Regions from separate parts of the Homo sapiens genome. Here all the other regions are linked to region 1. Evidence: promoter capture Hi-C in 16 types of primary human blood cells and fetal thymus (Javierre and others, 2016). All regions are on one chromosome and are shown on one strand. Each heading gives the region's core, a stretch centred on a gene start or on the middle of the fragment in contact. The rest is flanking DNA. Distances are from core to core; before and after follow the strand shown. Region 1 holds the start of GRID1 (glutamate ionotropic receptor delta type subunit 1). Region 2 overlaps GRID1 (glutamate ionotropic receptor delta type subunit 1). Region 3 overlaps GRID1 (glutamate ionotropic receptor delta type subunit 1). Region 4 overlaps GRID1 (glutamate ionotropic receptor delta type subunit 1). Region 5 overlaps GRID1 (glutamate ionotropic receptor delta type subunit 1).

Region 1 (2,853 bases), core at 259-2,758:
TGATACTTCTGCAATCCAGCTTCTCCGCTCCAACAGGCTGTCCCTGCCCAGCTGAGCTGGCCCACCCAGGGTTCCCTCACAGTGCTATGGGCCTCCACTGGCCCCCTCTGCACAGCCCATCCTCTCCAATCTTTCTTTCCAAAGTGAAATCTACCAATGCTTACTCTTTGGCTCTGGCCACATGAGAGACAGACAGACATACAGACACACACTTCTTTCTTTTTGCCTTGGCTCACCACTATTCAATGCCTGGAAGCCTTATTTTCTCCCTTGGGAACCTCCACTCAGTCTTTACAACTGTCATCTCCTCCAGGAAGTCATCCCTGCTCTTCTTCCCAGGCTGGTTCAGAGCCCAGGCATCTGAGCATACACAGCTCATTCATAGCCCCCCCCAACATTTAAAAGATGACTTGGTTGGGTGTCTGCCTCGCCCACTGCGCTGGGAGCTCTGGGCAAGGGCTGTGGTGGGAGCCTCTCCCCCTGGTGCGTGGCGGGAGTCCTGGGGCCCCTCCGCGGACAACAGGGCCCGGGGACGTTCCCAGGCTTGCTGGAGGAGCAGCTTTTGAACGAGGCTCTGCCAGGTCCCAGACCCCAGGAAGCTCAGCTGTCTCCTCGAAATCTTGGGGGTGCCACATGGAGCCCAGTCCCTTTCAGGCACGAGCCCACAACAGCTTAACGCTCTCTTTGGTGGTGGCCGGCCCGAGGCAGGCACCGGAGGCGGAGGGAGCCCTGTTCCGCTGTGGCCGCGAGGAGCGGGCTCTTCGCCCGGGCTCGCACATGAAAGCTCCGTGCAGGGTCGGAGTCTGAGCCCGCCGGCCGCTTGGAAGGCTCCTCACGTCCAGGCGCCGCGGTCACGGCTGCGCTGGTTTCCGGCCATGAATTGGGCTTCAGAGTCCGAGCCTCTTGCCCGACTCCCGGCTGAGCGCGCTGCCCATGGAGCGGGGGATGGGCGCCCGCCGAGGTCCGCGCGGCCAGCCAGGGTTCGAGCCCACGGCCCGGGCTCTACTCTGAGATGCTTGCGGCGGCCGGCCCCCTCTGGCTCCCCAGCTGTCCTGGGGCCTGGCCCGGCGCCCCGCCCCGGTCTCTCTTCTTGCTCCCCAGGTCCCACTCCACGAGGAACGGTCTGTTTCGGCCGGGGACATGACCCGAGACGCGCGGCTGCTGAGGTCGCCAGGGCGCTTCGGGAGCCCCTCGAGGGCAGTTAGCGGCCGGCCCTCCTCCATTCTCCCGCCCCTGGCGAACCGGAGAAGGAGGCCCGAACCGTCAGAGCTCGGCGCGCCGCAGCCCAGGCCGGTCCCCGCCGCTGTGCCGGTCTCCGAGCGTCCCCCGAGCCGGGAGCGTGGAGCACCCGGCGCCCCCTCCGAGCCGCGAGCGGGCGAGAGCCGCGCGGCGAGGCTGAGGCTCCGCAGTCACGTGGTAGAGAGGCGGGCGGAGGGGAGGGAGGCGGGCAGGGAGGGGAGGGGGAGCGGAGCTGAGGGGGAGGGGGAGGGGAGGGGGCGTCCTCCGCAGTTCGCTCCTCGCCGGGGCTCAGACACACAGCCAGCCCAGAGCCGCCACGCCGGCCCGGCCGCCGCCGCCACCGCCTCAGCCTCCCCCGAAGCCGCTCTAGCCGCGGGAAGCGCCGCTGCCACAGCCGCGGGCCGCCCCCGCCGCGCCGGCCTGGGCTCAAGCTGCCAGCACCGCCGCAGCCGCCACCGGAGCCGGAGCGGGAGCCCGACCGCGCTGGGCTGGGCTGGGCTGGGCTGGGGCGGGCGCAGGGCGCAGGGGCGGGCGCGCGGGGGAAGACGCACGGGCGGGCTCGGCTCTCCCGGGGAGCGGCCCGGGACTGCACCGGGACCAGCGCCTCCCCGCTTCGCGCTGCCCTCGGCCTCGCCCCGGGCCCGGGTGGATGAGCCGCGCGCCCGGGGGACATGGAAGCGCTGACGCTGTGGCTTCTCCCCTGGATATGCCAGTGCGTGTCGGTGCGGGCCGACTCCATCATCCACATCGGTAAGCGCGGCTGGAGGCCGGGCCGAGGCTGGGCGGGGGCCCCAACGGGGCAGGGGGTGCGCGGCGTCCAAACTTGGCGTTTCCCTGGGCCGAGGGGCTCGGCGGGCGGTGCTCCCCCGAAGGGCCGCGCCGCGCCGCCCGGCGGAGGAGCTGTGCACCGGCCGCGCCGCGCTCCCGCTGGCTGCTTGCCGCTCCCCGGGGCTCCGATCTCCGCGCGGGGCCCCGCGGCCTCTACCGACACTTAGGGCCGACGCTTCGGGGAACACCGGGATGGACGCGCGTCGAGACCCGCGCCCTTAGCGGGGCCGTCGGCGGGTCGGGAGGGCCCTTCTGCGCAGCTCAGAGCAGCGGGGGGCAGGGGGAGGTACAGCGGGGGGCTCGCCAAGTTGGCAGGGCAAGATCAAAGAGGCCGGACCGGAACCGTGTGTGAATGTGTGTGGGTGCGTGTTGTCAGCGTGTGTCGCTGTGTGCGCCTGGCACGGTGTCGGTGTTACTGTGAGAGGGTGTTGGGGTGTGTGGGGCCATCTGAGCGTGTGTTGGTGCGTGCACGACTGTCTGTCAGCCTGTTAGAGTGGACACAGTGTCTGCCTGCTTCTCCGGTGTGTGTCTGTGTAGCCCTTGGTGTATGTGTGAGTGCGTGTGTATCTGGTTGTGGCGACTGCATCCCCATCCTGGACAGTCCTAGAGTTTTGCGTGGTCCAAGTCTTGGGGGCCCAGACGGTCTGGGTGGTGGGAGCCGAGGGAAGAAGCGTGGGCAGCGGGGGGTAGGGGGATGCTGAGCGGGAAGAGATGGATAGAGAGAGAGAACCGGGAGAGAAGATGAAAGCGCAGAGGAGGAGGGGGCGCGCCGAGGGGGAGTGGGCG
Region 2 (2,853 bases), core at 145-2,644, 240 kb after region 1:
CAAGTAAAACATTGTAAGAATTTAATGTTTGATTTTTGATATTTCAAAGGAGCATCTAAGCAATCATCAGGGAAAAAGGCCTGAGTGCCGCTGGACTTTCTGGTGTTTATTTTCTGGTTGGCTGTTGTTTCTATTTTGAGTTCCATCTCAAATCATGCCATCCCATTCTTGGTGCTCTGGGGTGCTGAAAGCCTTACAGAGACTGTCTGGGAGGCCTGTCTGGGGTCAAAGAGAACTGTGAACCTGAAGCATGGGCCTGAAGACACCTGGTGGCCTTTCCTTCCTTTGTGGGTCATTAAATAGCGGAGCAGAGTGTCAGCTCCTCCCTGCAGAGTATCTATGGCTTATTAGCAGGTAGCCCCTTTGGCCAAGGAGGCAGCAGACATGAGAAATAGGCATTTACAAAGGGAAACAGCCTGCAGCAGCCGAAATGGCTCAATTACCCTTTCTGCTCCCGGATCCCCAAGGGTGTTCAGCCTTGGGGGGGCCTCGCCTCTGAGCCTGAGGTGAGTCAGCCTGCTTGTTGACTGAAGAGCTGATTGGGGAGCTCAGCGGGGAAGCTGTAAGAAGACGTGGTGGGATGCAGGGGGAGGGGGCGGGTCATGAGAGGCAGAAATGAGAGAGATTATCTAAATTGGTATGAATTTATCTCAGAGAAGCTATCTGTGCCATGTAGTCCACATCTGGTGCCATTCTCTGCACATGGCATCCCTAAACAGAGCCCTCTCCTGGTGCCGGTGAGATAAGAGAGTTCCCTGACCCCACTCGCAGGACGTGTGATAGGGACGTGGCTCCTTTGTTTGGCTGCTTGCTCCTTACGGGATGGGGGGCACGCAGACGGGCAGGTGCAGGAACTGGGGTGAGCGCTTTTGGGCTCTGGCCCCACGGTAGCACTAGGGGTGGGTGCCTGTGACTCCCAAAGCCCCAGTGGGCATGTTACAGTGCTCTTTTAGCTCCTGCCATCTGCAGATGGCTTAAGCGTTAACCAGCTCAGCGCCCTCTTGGTACTCAGATCCTTGTCTGGCAACCAGGAAGAATCAGGTCACACAGACAAGTTAAAGGATGGTAAATGCAGGGGATTTTATTGCCAGATGGAAGTGGCTCTCAGTAGGATGGATGGGGAGCTGGAAAGGGGTTGGAGTGGGAAGACTATATTCCCCTGGAATTCTACCATCCTGCAGCTGATCTTCTCTCTGACTGTCTCCAACCGAACTCCTCTCGACATTCAGATGCTCCTTCTCTCCTCTCCTTCTCTACTGTGTCGCTCTTCTGTTCCTCTGCCCTTCTGCTTATGGAGCCTGGGATTTGGGGTTTATATGGGTACAGGCATGGCAGGCCAAAAGGCAACATTTGTGTGTGAAAACAGGAATGACTGTTCCCATTTAGGGCTGTGAGTTTCCAGGCTTGAGGGTGGAGCCTTTGCTGGGGAACTTCCCTCTTCTACCCAGTATTTCCTGGCCTCCTGTCTACATCACTGGTAGGAATCTGGCCTTGGTCACCTGCCATCTGTGCTTGAGCTGCCAGTCCCCTTGGAGAGAAGAAGGGCTCTGCATCAGCTAGCTGTGTGTCCTAAAACTCAGTGTCATGCAACAGTAAGCATGTGTTGTTACTCATGAACCTAGTGGTCAGCAGACCTGGGTTAGATTCACTGGATCTCAGCTGGGCTGGCTCATGCATCTGGGCTGGCTGGTGAGGATGGCACTGGCCAGCTGTAAGCTGGGGTGATGAGCCTGCCCCTTGACAAGCACACTAGCCCAGGCTTATTCATGTGGCAGCAGCGGAGTTCCAGGAGACCAAGTGTGAGTGCTCAGGGCTGCTTGAAGCCTGAGCTCAGACCTGGTGCATTGTGACTTCTACTGCAATCTCTTGTCCAGAGCAAGCCATGAAGTCAGCTCAACAGGCAGGGGAAAGAGACTCCTCCTCTAGATGGAAGACTGCTCTTGAGGGGGGAACTGGAAAGTCACATTGCCAAGGGAGTGGCTGCCTTGAAGGACAGAGAGTTGGGACCATTTTGTTGTCCATCTAGCATAGGCCCTAGTGTGCAGATGAGCTTCCTGGGTGGAAGCAGATGGTGGCAGTTCTGCAGGTGACCTGGGGCCATGTGCCTTCTCACTCTTACTTTGCTTCAACATTGTTCAACTTTGGGGTGAACATGGTAAAGAGGGGGATGTGGAGCAGAGGGAGGGATGAAGACAGGCTTTATTTATCAAGTTCACCATATTCAGACCCTGAAACTCACCGAATCTTCTCAACAATGCTGGAAGAGAAGGGCTAGGATGGAGCTTTGAGCCTGTGGGGATTTTGGGGTTTGCTCATGGTCTAAAAGATGAAAAATGACAGAGCTGGGCTATGAATGCTGAACACCCTGACTCAAAGCCCAGCTTTTTTCTACTATGTGCTGTTGGGAGAGGAGGCTTGTTGCCATTGACAGATCAAGGGAGAGCCCATTTTTCTCCTGGAGTGTGACACAGAGCAGACTAGGTGAACATTGCCACGGAGTAGCAGGTAGCATGAGGAGGGGGACTGGACACCTCTGAATGCTCATATGGAGATGGGGACAACCCCCAGTCCTCTCTCGGCCAACACATCTGCAGAGAGCCTGAGGGGATGGATTGGCTGCCTCTGTGTCTCCATGGTCAACTAGAAGAGCAGTTTCTACAACCTCCCAGGCACCCGAGAGTCTGAGGACATTTTATATAGGCTTTCTGTCTACAGGGCAGGGAAGGGCAGAGTCCAGGCAGACCCAGCCCCTTTCTTGCCCCGCTTTCTCACCATGTGGCTTTCTGAGCTCTGGTTCCTCATCTGCTCAATGGAGTCAATACTTGATTCACAACGTTCTTCTAAGTACAGGGT
Region 3 (2,853 bases), core at 130-2,629, 210 kb after region 1:
AGTCAGACTGACTTGGACTTGAATTGTGGCATTGGCACTCACCTCTCCAAGCCTCAATTTTGCTATCTGTAAAGTGGGGATAATAATAGACCTGCCCTCCTGGGGTTGCTGGGGTGAGTAAATGAGACGGGGAGTGTGTGGGGCTTGGTACAGTGCTGGGTGCACTGCTGGGGTGTCCCCTGGTTTTGCTCCCGGAGAGGTGGCAGCGAGCAGAGGTGTGTGCTCTTGCCCAGCTTACGATGGCAGCTCTGTCAATTCCTCCTCTTCAGTTTGCACAGCCTAGCTCAGGTGTGGGCTTCTGTTGGACTCGAGCTTCTACTCCTGGACAAGAAATTGCATTTCTGTAATTAATTTGAACATTTTTTCCATGTGACTTTTCTGAGCTGCTATTGCATGCCAGGCTCCATGCTTGGACCTGGGAGTATGCAGTGGTGAGAAAGATTCCCAGGATCTGCAGCCACTCTCTAGAGACACCTGCTCCTGCTGGGATGGACCCCCTTGGATATGGAGGTTGGTCAAGAAGCCGGGGGCCCTTCTGGAGACCAGGGTGTGGACTGTGGCCCTTGGGGCTCGACATTCTGTTGTATCACTCTCCTGGAGGTGGCAGAGCTGGACAGAATCAGACCTCCTGGCTCAGCCCTTGTTACTAGAGTGCCTGAAGCTCTCTAGGCCCCAGTTTTTTCCTCTGTAAAGAAGGAATGAAAATCCTGCTCCCGTAGGCTTGCTGTGAGGAGGAAATGAAGGGGAGAGAGTGGGACAGTGCAAAGAAGGGACTTCATAAGCCATAAATGGGGGCTCACTTCCCTACTCCCCTCACCCAGCGTTCCTGGCAGGAAGGACATCTACCCTTGGGAGGAGGAGAGGGGACAGTGTTGGTCTGGGCAGGTATTTCCCATGGTTGCAGCCCCACCCCACTGGCATTGATCATACTATTAGTCCAGTTGTCTGCACCTTCCTCGGAGCCCAAGAGCAACTCTGGCATTTCCAGGGCCTTCCGGCGGCCTGTGATGGATGGCTCCACCGTCCAGTCCATGCTTGTGCCAGGCCTGGGCGGGTGCGGCATGTGATGGATCAGCCCGAGGATGGTATTTTGGAAGGAAAATTCAAATTATATTTTAAGATAATACCCTGCCTCCCCGCCCCCACCCTACATCCCATTTGTAATCTGGCCCAAGAGGTTCTGGCAGGAGGTAACGAGTTTGTGATGGATGGGTAGGCAGCCCCATTAGGCCTGCAGATCCTGCCTCTTAATTAATATTGATGTGGCTTTAATTTGGGGGCTTAGCAGGCATGTTTTGGTGGCGGGGCTCTGTGGGGTTGCAGAGGCCCTGGGCCATCTGTGTTGCTCCTAGCATGGCTTGGCTGCCTGGGCTGGGGTATCCAGCCATGTCCCCATGCTGTTCTTGCAGAGCTCCTGGCCTCTGCTGACCACCAGCCCCATCTTGAGCAGCATGATGTCCCTAGACATGGAATTGGGAAGCAATGACACCCATTATTTCTGGTGTTTCAGATAGGATAGACATTAATAGCCTCAAGAGCGCAGATAATAGTAAAATGCAGCAAAATAATTAGGGAATGATGAACTTTGTGTATTTATCAATTTTGTTTGTTAATATAATTTAATTATAGGTTTATATAATTTAATCCATACTGGCTATGTTTAATAACTGGCTTGCAAATTCCTGAAAATTTAACAATAGGCTCTGGCAAGGTGGTAGGATGGGCTCCAGCCCACTGAGTGTGTGTGAGTGCAGGTGAGTGTGAGCACTGGTGAGCTGGAATACCTGAGCGTGTGTGTGTGAGTGAATGTGTCAGTCAGGGAGGCCTTCCTTTGCACCCAGACTCAGGCATGGGGTGGAGTCCCAGATGCCACCTGACCTGGCACCCACTGGGCTCAGGCACGGGAAGCTCTGTGGCACCCTGGAGCTCAGGCAGAGTGAGGTTCCTCTGCAGAAGTGGCGTCAGGAGGCCCACAATGAGGGGTGGTGGCATCTGTGGGCCCCTTGCTGTGGCTTCACTTCTGGCTCTGGTTGCCACTGTCCCTTCAAAGACAGGTTCCCGAGGAAACAAATTAAACCCGAGTAAATATCAGAAAGTAATTATGTAAATTAAATACATAATTTAAAGAACACTTGTCATGAGGTCAGTGGAAAGCTGTGAAGGCAGAAGCCTCCCTGTCAGGGCTGGCAAGGCACAGGCGGGTGAGGGGTGGCAGCCGCACTGGAGAGGATGGGCTGCTGTTCCGAGCAGCCTGCCCCTCACACGGGCTCTGTCCCAGGTGCTTCATGTCTGTCCTTCTGTGTGCCCCTCACAGTGGTCCTACCCCTAGACAGCCTCACTCTGCCCAATTTAGAGGCAGTGGCTGAGGCTCAGGGAGCTTAAGAGCCGTGCCCAGGCCAGAGATGGCTACCCATGAGTCCACCTCCCCTGTGGCAGGCCCCAAAGCCCAGGCTCTTTCTCCCACAGGGGAGCCACAGCCCTGCCCTGAAGTGGCCTCCCTGAGAGCTAGGCAGCATCTGCTCCAGCTATGGGGGCTCTCGGGCGCAGAGCGGGGCTTCAGGGCTCACTCCAGTGCAGTGTCTCCGTTGCTGTCATCCTTTCTCTGCCTCAGAGACAGGAGGCAGTGGGCAGGAGTGGTGGGCTTGGCATGGCTGGGCCCTAGGCCCTGGTCTCAGGGTTTTCTGGCATCCCTCCTGCCCAGAAATGCCACTGTGGCTATCCTTCTGTGGGCACACAAGGTCCCACACCCCTCATACCCAAACAGAACCACACACAGGTCTACAGCTGGGCTGTTGGGTTCCATGAGGCCTTTGATCCTGACATCCTCTTGGTCTGGAATACTCCCTCTCTTGT
Region 4 (2,853 bases), core at 216-2,715, 190 kb after region 1:
GGGTTAACAGCGGAAAGGTCCGTGATGTCCTTGACAAGAGCCGTTGCAGTGGGGCAGTGGGCAGATGGGGTGGGTTCGAGAGATGGCAGGAAGAGAGGAAGTGGAGCCAGCTGGCTAGGTCATATGGAATTCTCTTTGTCAAAGGGTATGGAGGCATGGTGGCCATTGAAGGAGGGATCATGGTATCAAGAGGGAGATGTTTTTATAAAGACAGAGGGTAACTTAGGCCACCACTTTCTTGGAGTCTTTTTTTTTTTTTTTGCTTTATTGAGGGCAAAGAGGTAGAGGAAATGGCCTTTTGGGAGTAAGTGAGTGAGAAAGGGGAGAGAGAAATACACAGAGAATAACCAGATCCACAAGTTGAGACAGTCTATCTGCGGCTACTCCCTGTACCCATCCCTATAGCTATTGCTGTATCTATATCTAAACACATATACTTCCCCTGCCACGCATATTCACACACATCTTTATAGAACTTTCAATGATTTCCAAAGATCCTGTGGAATACTGGTGTGCTGCCTTGTGGGGAGAAAAGAAGACTGAGCTAGTTTACAGTCCCACCAACAGTGTAAAAGTGTTCCTATTTCTCCACATCCTCTCCAGCACCTGTTGTTTCCTGACTTTTTAATGATTGCCATTCTAACTGGTGTGAGATGGTATCTCATTGTGGTTTTGATTTGCATTTCTCTGATGGCCACTGATGGTGAGCATTTTTTCATGTGTTTTTTGGCTGCATAAATGTCTTCTTTTGAGAAGTGTCTGTTGATGTCCTTCACCCACTTTTTGATGGGGTTGTTTGTTTTTTTCTTGTAAGTTTGTTTGAGTTCATTGTAGATTCTGGATATTAGCCCTTTGTCAGATGAGTAGGTTGCGAAAATTTTCTCCCATTCTGTAGGTTGCCTGTTCACTCTGATGGTAGTTTGTTTTGCTGTGCAGAAGCTCTTTAGTTTAATTAGATCCTATTTGTCAATTTTGGCTTTTGTTGCCATTGCTTTTGGTGTTTAGACATGAAGTCCTTGCCCATGCCTATGTCCTGAATGGTAATGCCTAGGTTTTCTTCTAGGGTTTTTATGGTTTTAGGTCTAATGTTTAAGTCTTTAATCCATCTTGAATTAATTTTTGTATAAGGTGTAAGGAAGGGATCCAGTTTCAGCTTTCTACATATGGCTAGCCAGTTTTCCCAGCACCATTTATTAAATAGGGAATCCTTTCCCCATTGCTTGTTTTTCTCAGGTTTGTCAAAGATCAGATAGCTGCAGATATGTGGCGTTATTTCTGAGGGCTCTGTTCTGTTCCATTGATCTATATCTCTGTTTTGGTACCAGTACCATGCTGTTTTCGTGACTGTAGCCTTGTAGTATAGTTTGAAGTCAGGTAGCGTGATGCCTCCAGCTTTGTTCTTTTGGCTTAGGATTGACTTGGCGATGCAGGCTCTTTTTTGAAAGTCAATGTGGCGATTCCTCAGGGATCTAGAACTAGAAATACCATTTGACCCAGCCATCCCATTACTGGGTATATACCCAAAGGACTATAAGTCATGCTGCTATAAAGACACATGCACACGTATGTCTATTGTGGCACTATTCACAATAGCAAAGACTTGGAACCAACCCAGAAGTCCAACAATGATTGACTAGATTAAGAAAATGTGGCACATATACACCATGGAATACTATGCAGCCAAAAAAAAATGATGAGTTCATGTCCTTTGTAGGGACATGGATGAAATTGGAAATCATCATTCTCAGTAAACTATCACAAGAACAAAAAACCAAACACCGCATATTCTCACTCATAGGTGGGAATTGAACAATGAGAACACATGGACACAGGAAGGGGAACATCACATTCTGGGGACTGTGGTGGGGTGGGGGGAGGGGGAAGGGATAGCTTTAGGAGATACACTTAATGCTAAATGACGAGTTAATGGGTGCAGCACACCAGCATGGCACATGTATACATATGTAACTAACCTGCACATTGTGCACATGTACCCTAAAACTTAAAGTATAATAAAATAAAATAAAAAAAAAGAAAAGAAGACTGAGGAGGAAAGTTTAGACTAAAAGTGATTTAAGAGATGTATCAAACAATTGGCTATATGTATAGACTTTGTCAGGATTCTGATTTGAAAAAATTATAAAAAAAAATGTGTGTGACCATGGGAAGATGTGAATACTGGCTGGATATTGGAAGATAGTAAGGGTTTGTTTACTTTTTGTAGGTATGCTTATGGCATTGCATTTAGAAAAAATTCTTGTCAGGCCAGGTGCAGTGGCTTATGCCTGTCATCCCAGTACTTTGGAAGGCCGAGGCAGGAGGATCACTTGAGGCCAGGAATTTGAGACCAGCCTGGGCAACATAGCAAGACCCTGTGTCTACAAAAAACAATAAAAATTAGCCAAGCATGGTGGCACACACCTGTAGTCCCAGCTACTTGGTAGGCTGAAGTGGGAGGATTGCTTGAGTCCAGGAGATCAAGGCTGTAGTGAGACGTGATTGGGCCACTGCACTCCAGCCTGGGTGACAGATATTCTGTCTGTTAAAAACAAAATAAAACAAAAACAGGAAAAATCCTTGTCTTTTGGAGACACAATTGAAATGTATACATGTGAAAGATGTGATGCTGGAGATTTTCTTCAACTTAATTTGAGGGTGGGTGAGGTGTAGGTGGTAACAACTGAAGTTGGGTAAGACATACACAAGGCCCACTACCCTTTTTTCCAATGTTTGAAATTTTTTTATAATAACAAGTAAAATAAAATCATATAATAGCATTTTTTTCTTAGTTATACAGGAATCTTGTGTGCTTTTTATTTTAGGTTTTACGGCCTTAACTTTTCTGGAATATTA
Region 5 (2,853 bases), core at 221-2,720, 180 kb after region 1:
TGGACACTTAAGGGTTGCTTCTACCTTTGGTCCACTTGGCTTTCTGAGGGTGTTGGGAGAGGAATGTCGTCTCTTGGAGCCTCCATGTGTGTGTGTGTGCGCAGGTGTCTGTGGGTGTGTGTTGCTGCAATGGGATTGTATGTGTTTGTGTGTGGTGGGCATTTTTGTGCCACACTGTTTGGAAGACATCCATTCATCCTTCATTCTGCCACCAAAGTCACCTTCCTTAACTCACTGCCCTGCTTAGACCCCTGAATGTCTCCCCCTCTCCTTAAGGATCAAGTTCAGATCCCTTCTCGCAGTGCACAGGGCCTCCAAGGTCTGTCTCTCCCTGGCCTTTCTCTCATCACTCCCTCAAGACCTCTGTGTCCCAGCGACGCAGGATGGATCAGCAGGGGTGCCATCAGGAACACATGGCCCACTCCAGGTCATTCAGAGGAGGGGATTTAACATGAGGAACTACTGACAAGTGCTGGCAGAGTTGAGGACAGGTGGAGTGGAAGCAGCCCAGACTAACAACTGGGCAGGGCTGGAGTGACTCCCAGGGCTCGAGGGATGAATGGGAGAGATGGTCCTGGAGCCATGACTGTCCAGTGGGTACTGGGACCTCATAGAGGGGCCACCCTGAGGGAACTGGGAGCATGTGGGAGACCCAACCATGGCCAGAGACACTGGAAGCAGAGAGAGGGTGAAATACCTGGCTTCCTCCTCCTCCTGTGCCTGAGTCTCCTGACCATGCTTCTCAGTGGTCAGTGGTAATCAGCAGGATAGGGAGTCTGGGAAGGGGAGGGGTGGGCACTCTAGAGGGAAGAACAGGGGAGGGTGGGGGATGGATGTGACTGCAATCTGCACTCCCCACCACACCCAGGGACTCACCTTCCTGAATGTGTCCCAGTCACACCCCACCATCCCACATGGCTCCCCGACCTGGACCAGCCACCTCACTGCCTGAAAGCTATTCCTCCATCCTCAAGACTTATTTGAGCGTCTCCTTGTTTTGGAAGTTTCCTCTCTTCTCCTTGTTCCCCTGCCAGGTGGGCTGTCCCTTCTCTGGGTTCCACAGATGCCCTCTGTGCATCTCACCCCAGGTTACTGGGCCATAATTACTGACTTCCTTTTCTCCCTCCCTCTGGACAGTAAGCTCCTCCAGGGTGAAAAGCCTGCTTTACCTGACTTTGAGTCTGTGGCATCAAATGCATGTAACAGGCCTGAGCAGATGCTTATTGTGCGATTCAGCAACTAGGTTAGAGGTGACAGAAATAAAAAGCCCAGAGATCTGGAGCTCTCTTTCTCACACACACAATATGTGCATGTGTGTTCACACAGGCACATGCATTTGAGCACACACAGATGCACATGTGCATGCAGGTACACACTCATGCATGCATGCACGTACACACTCATGCATGCATGCACGACTATGCACACATGTGCACATAGACACATGCATGTGAACACCCACACATCTGAAGTGCCTGTAGTCATTAAAGTTAGAGGTGCAGATGAATGTGGTCTGAGGCTAGCTATGAATCTTACTAACAGTCACCAAGAAAGATCAATACATTAACTCTTTTCTTCTAAGTTGGCATGAGGTTTCACTGGAGGGCCTCGGCAGCTCAAGGTGAAGTTCTTCCTGAGGCCTTCCTTCTAGCCTGGCTTGTGCAGGGAAGGGAGAGCCAGGTGAGCTCCAGGGGCCCTGCACACCTGCAGGATGGGGATGGGCATGTCAGGGGTGCCTTTGGTTCATCTGGGACCTAACCAGGTCTTGGCTACTGCCACTGCAGTCAGAGGACCTGGCTACAGAGCCAGGCTGTAGCCATGGGGCACTGCCCAGCCCCTCCCTGACACCAGCACAGCCAGGCTTCATGGGCCCCCACACCTGTTGTGGGGCCCAGGGGCAGCAAAGGGAGGAGGTATGTGGGGTGCACTGGAGCCTGTGCACAGGGGCTCGTGTGAGCCACTGGGCCACCTCTTCCCAACTCTGTGTTTGGTCACAGCACTTCAGTGACTAGAAATCAGTCCCGGTGGGAATATTTACTTCATGGAGGCCAGTAAGTGCCACATGTCAGAGCTTCTTATTCTGGAGGGCCGGTTAGGATCACACCATGTGTCCCACTCACATAGTGTTTGTGACCTGCTTGGGGGTGGGCGACTAGATGGTGACACAGAGGATATTCAAGGTAACGGTGTGTTTTGAAGGGAAGGCAGGAGCCTGGGGCCGAGTCACGGAAGGCATGCGGTGGACTTGCACTGGGTTTTGGAAGGCAGGGAGGGCTTGGGCAGAGGGAGACAGAGGTCCCAGGAGGTAACAGCCTGAGCACAGAGAAGCACGAGGGTCAGAGAGTGGGGTGTTAGCAAGGAGGGTTAGGTGAGTTTTCAGGCAAAAGAGAAGGGCCTGGAAAGCCATGTTAGGAGTTGACCTTTGTCCTTGCAGGGCAGGGGTTCTTAGTGGGCACAAGAGCCTCCTCCCACCTCTGGCCCCGGGGACATTTGGCAGCGTCTGGGGACATTTGTGTTTCTCTGTCATAACAGGGGATAGGGAGGAGTACTAGTGGCCTCAGTGGGTAGAGGCCAGGGATGCTGATAAACATCGCACAGCACCCGCTTAAGACAGCCCCTGACAGTAAAGAACTTTCTGGCCTCAAGTGTCAATAGTAGGTAACAGGGCATAGGTAATAGGGAGCTATTGCAGGTTCATGGTCAGGGATCTATAAAGTTGTGTTTTTAGTGCAGTTTGTGGAATAGAGTGGAAATGTGTGCATGTGATGTGTGTGTGTGTGCGTGTGTGTGTGTGTGTAGAGGGTAGGGATGCTGGGGAAAAGGAGACCACAGGCAGGGGAGTAATGAGGAGGC

What was found. Contacts are between HindIII fragments. The CHiCAGO score rates a contact against its expected background, and 5 or more counts as called.
Region 2: a fragment that was not itself captured here is called in contact with the fragment with the promoter of GRID1 in region 1 in 2 of 17 cell types (M0 macrophages and M2 macrophages); the score reaches 5.7 in M0 macrophages.
Region 3: a contact is called between a fragment that was not itself captured here and the fragment with the promoter of GRID1 in region 1, in 3 of 17 cell types (M0 macrophages, M1 macrophages and M2 macrophages). The highest score is 8.6, in M0 macrophages.
Region 4: a contact is called between a fragment that was not itself captured here and the fragment with the promoter of GRID1 in region 1, in 3 of 17 cell types (M2 macrophages, M0 macrophages and M1 macrophages). The highest score is 8.2, in M2 macrophages.
Region 5: a fragment that was not itself captured here is called in contact with the fragment with the promoter of GRID1 in region 1 in 1 of 17 cell types (M2 macrophages); the score reaches 7.3 in M2 macrophages.

Annotation. Positions count from the first base shown.
Region 1 is chr10:86,365,450-86,368,302 of GRCh38, reverse strand. GRID1 (glutamate ionotropic receptor delta type subunit 1) reads left to right here and starts at 1,508. Exons shown (of 16, transcript NM_017551.3): 1 at 1,508-1,989. The coding sequence starts at 1,911. RefSeq lists silencers at 810-1,019, 1,130-1,519, 1,540-1,589, 1,820-2,019, 2,050-2,199. The HindIII fragment of the contact is 11,562 bases long and covers 1-2,853 here.
Region 2 is chr10:86,128,915-86,131,767 of GRCh38, reverse strand. The region is part of intron 4 of GRID1 (glutamate ionotropic receptor delta type subunit 1); the gene reads left to right. Among named protein-coding and RNA genes, the nearest start is that of MIR346, 130 kb to the left of the region's middle. The HindIII fragment of the contact is 8,832 bases long and covers 1-2,853 here.
Region 3 is chr10:86,152,177-86,155,029 of GRCh38, reverse strand. All of the region lies in intron 3 of GRID1 (glutamate ionotropic receptor delta type subunit 1), which reads left to right. Among named protein-coding and RNA genes, the nearest start is that of MIR346, 110 kb to the left of the region's middle. The HindIII fragment of the contact is 6,972 bases long and covers 1-2,853 here.
Region 4 is chr10:86,172,749-86,175,601 of GRCh38, reverse strand. The region is part of intron 3 of GRID1 (glutamate ionotropic receptor delta type subunit 1); the gene reads left to right. Among named protein-coding and RNA genes, the nearest start is that of MIR346, 91 kb to the left of the region's middle. The HindIII fragment of the contact is 4,970 bases long and covers 1-2,853 here.
Region 5 is chr10:86,189,441-86,192,293 of GRCh38, reverse strand. All of the region lies in intron 3 of GRID1 (glutamate ionotropic receptor delta type subunit 1), which reads left to right. Among named protein-coding and RNA genes, the nearest start is that of MIR346, 74 kb to the left of the region's middle. The HindIII fragment of the contact is 8,553 bases long and covers 1-2,853 here.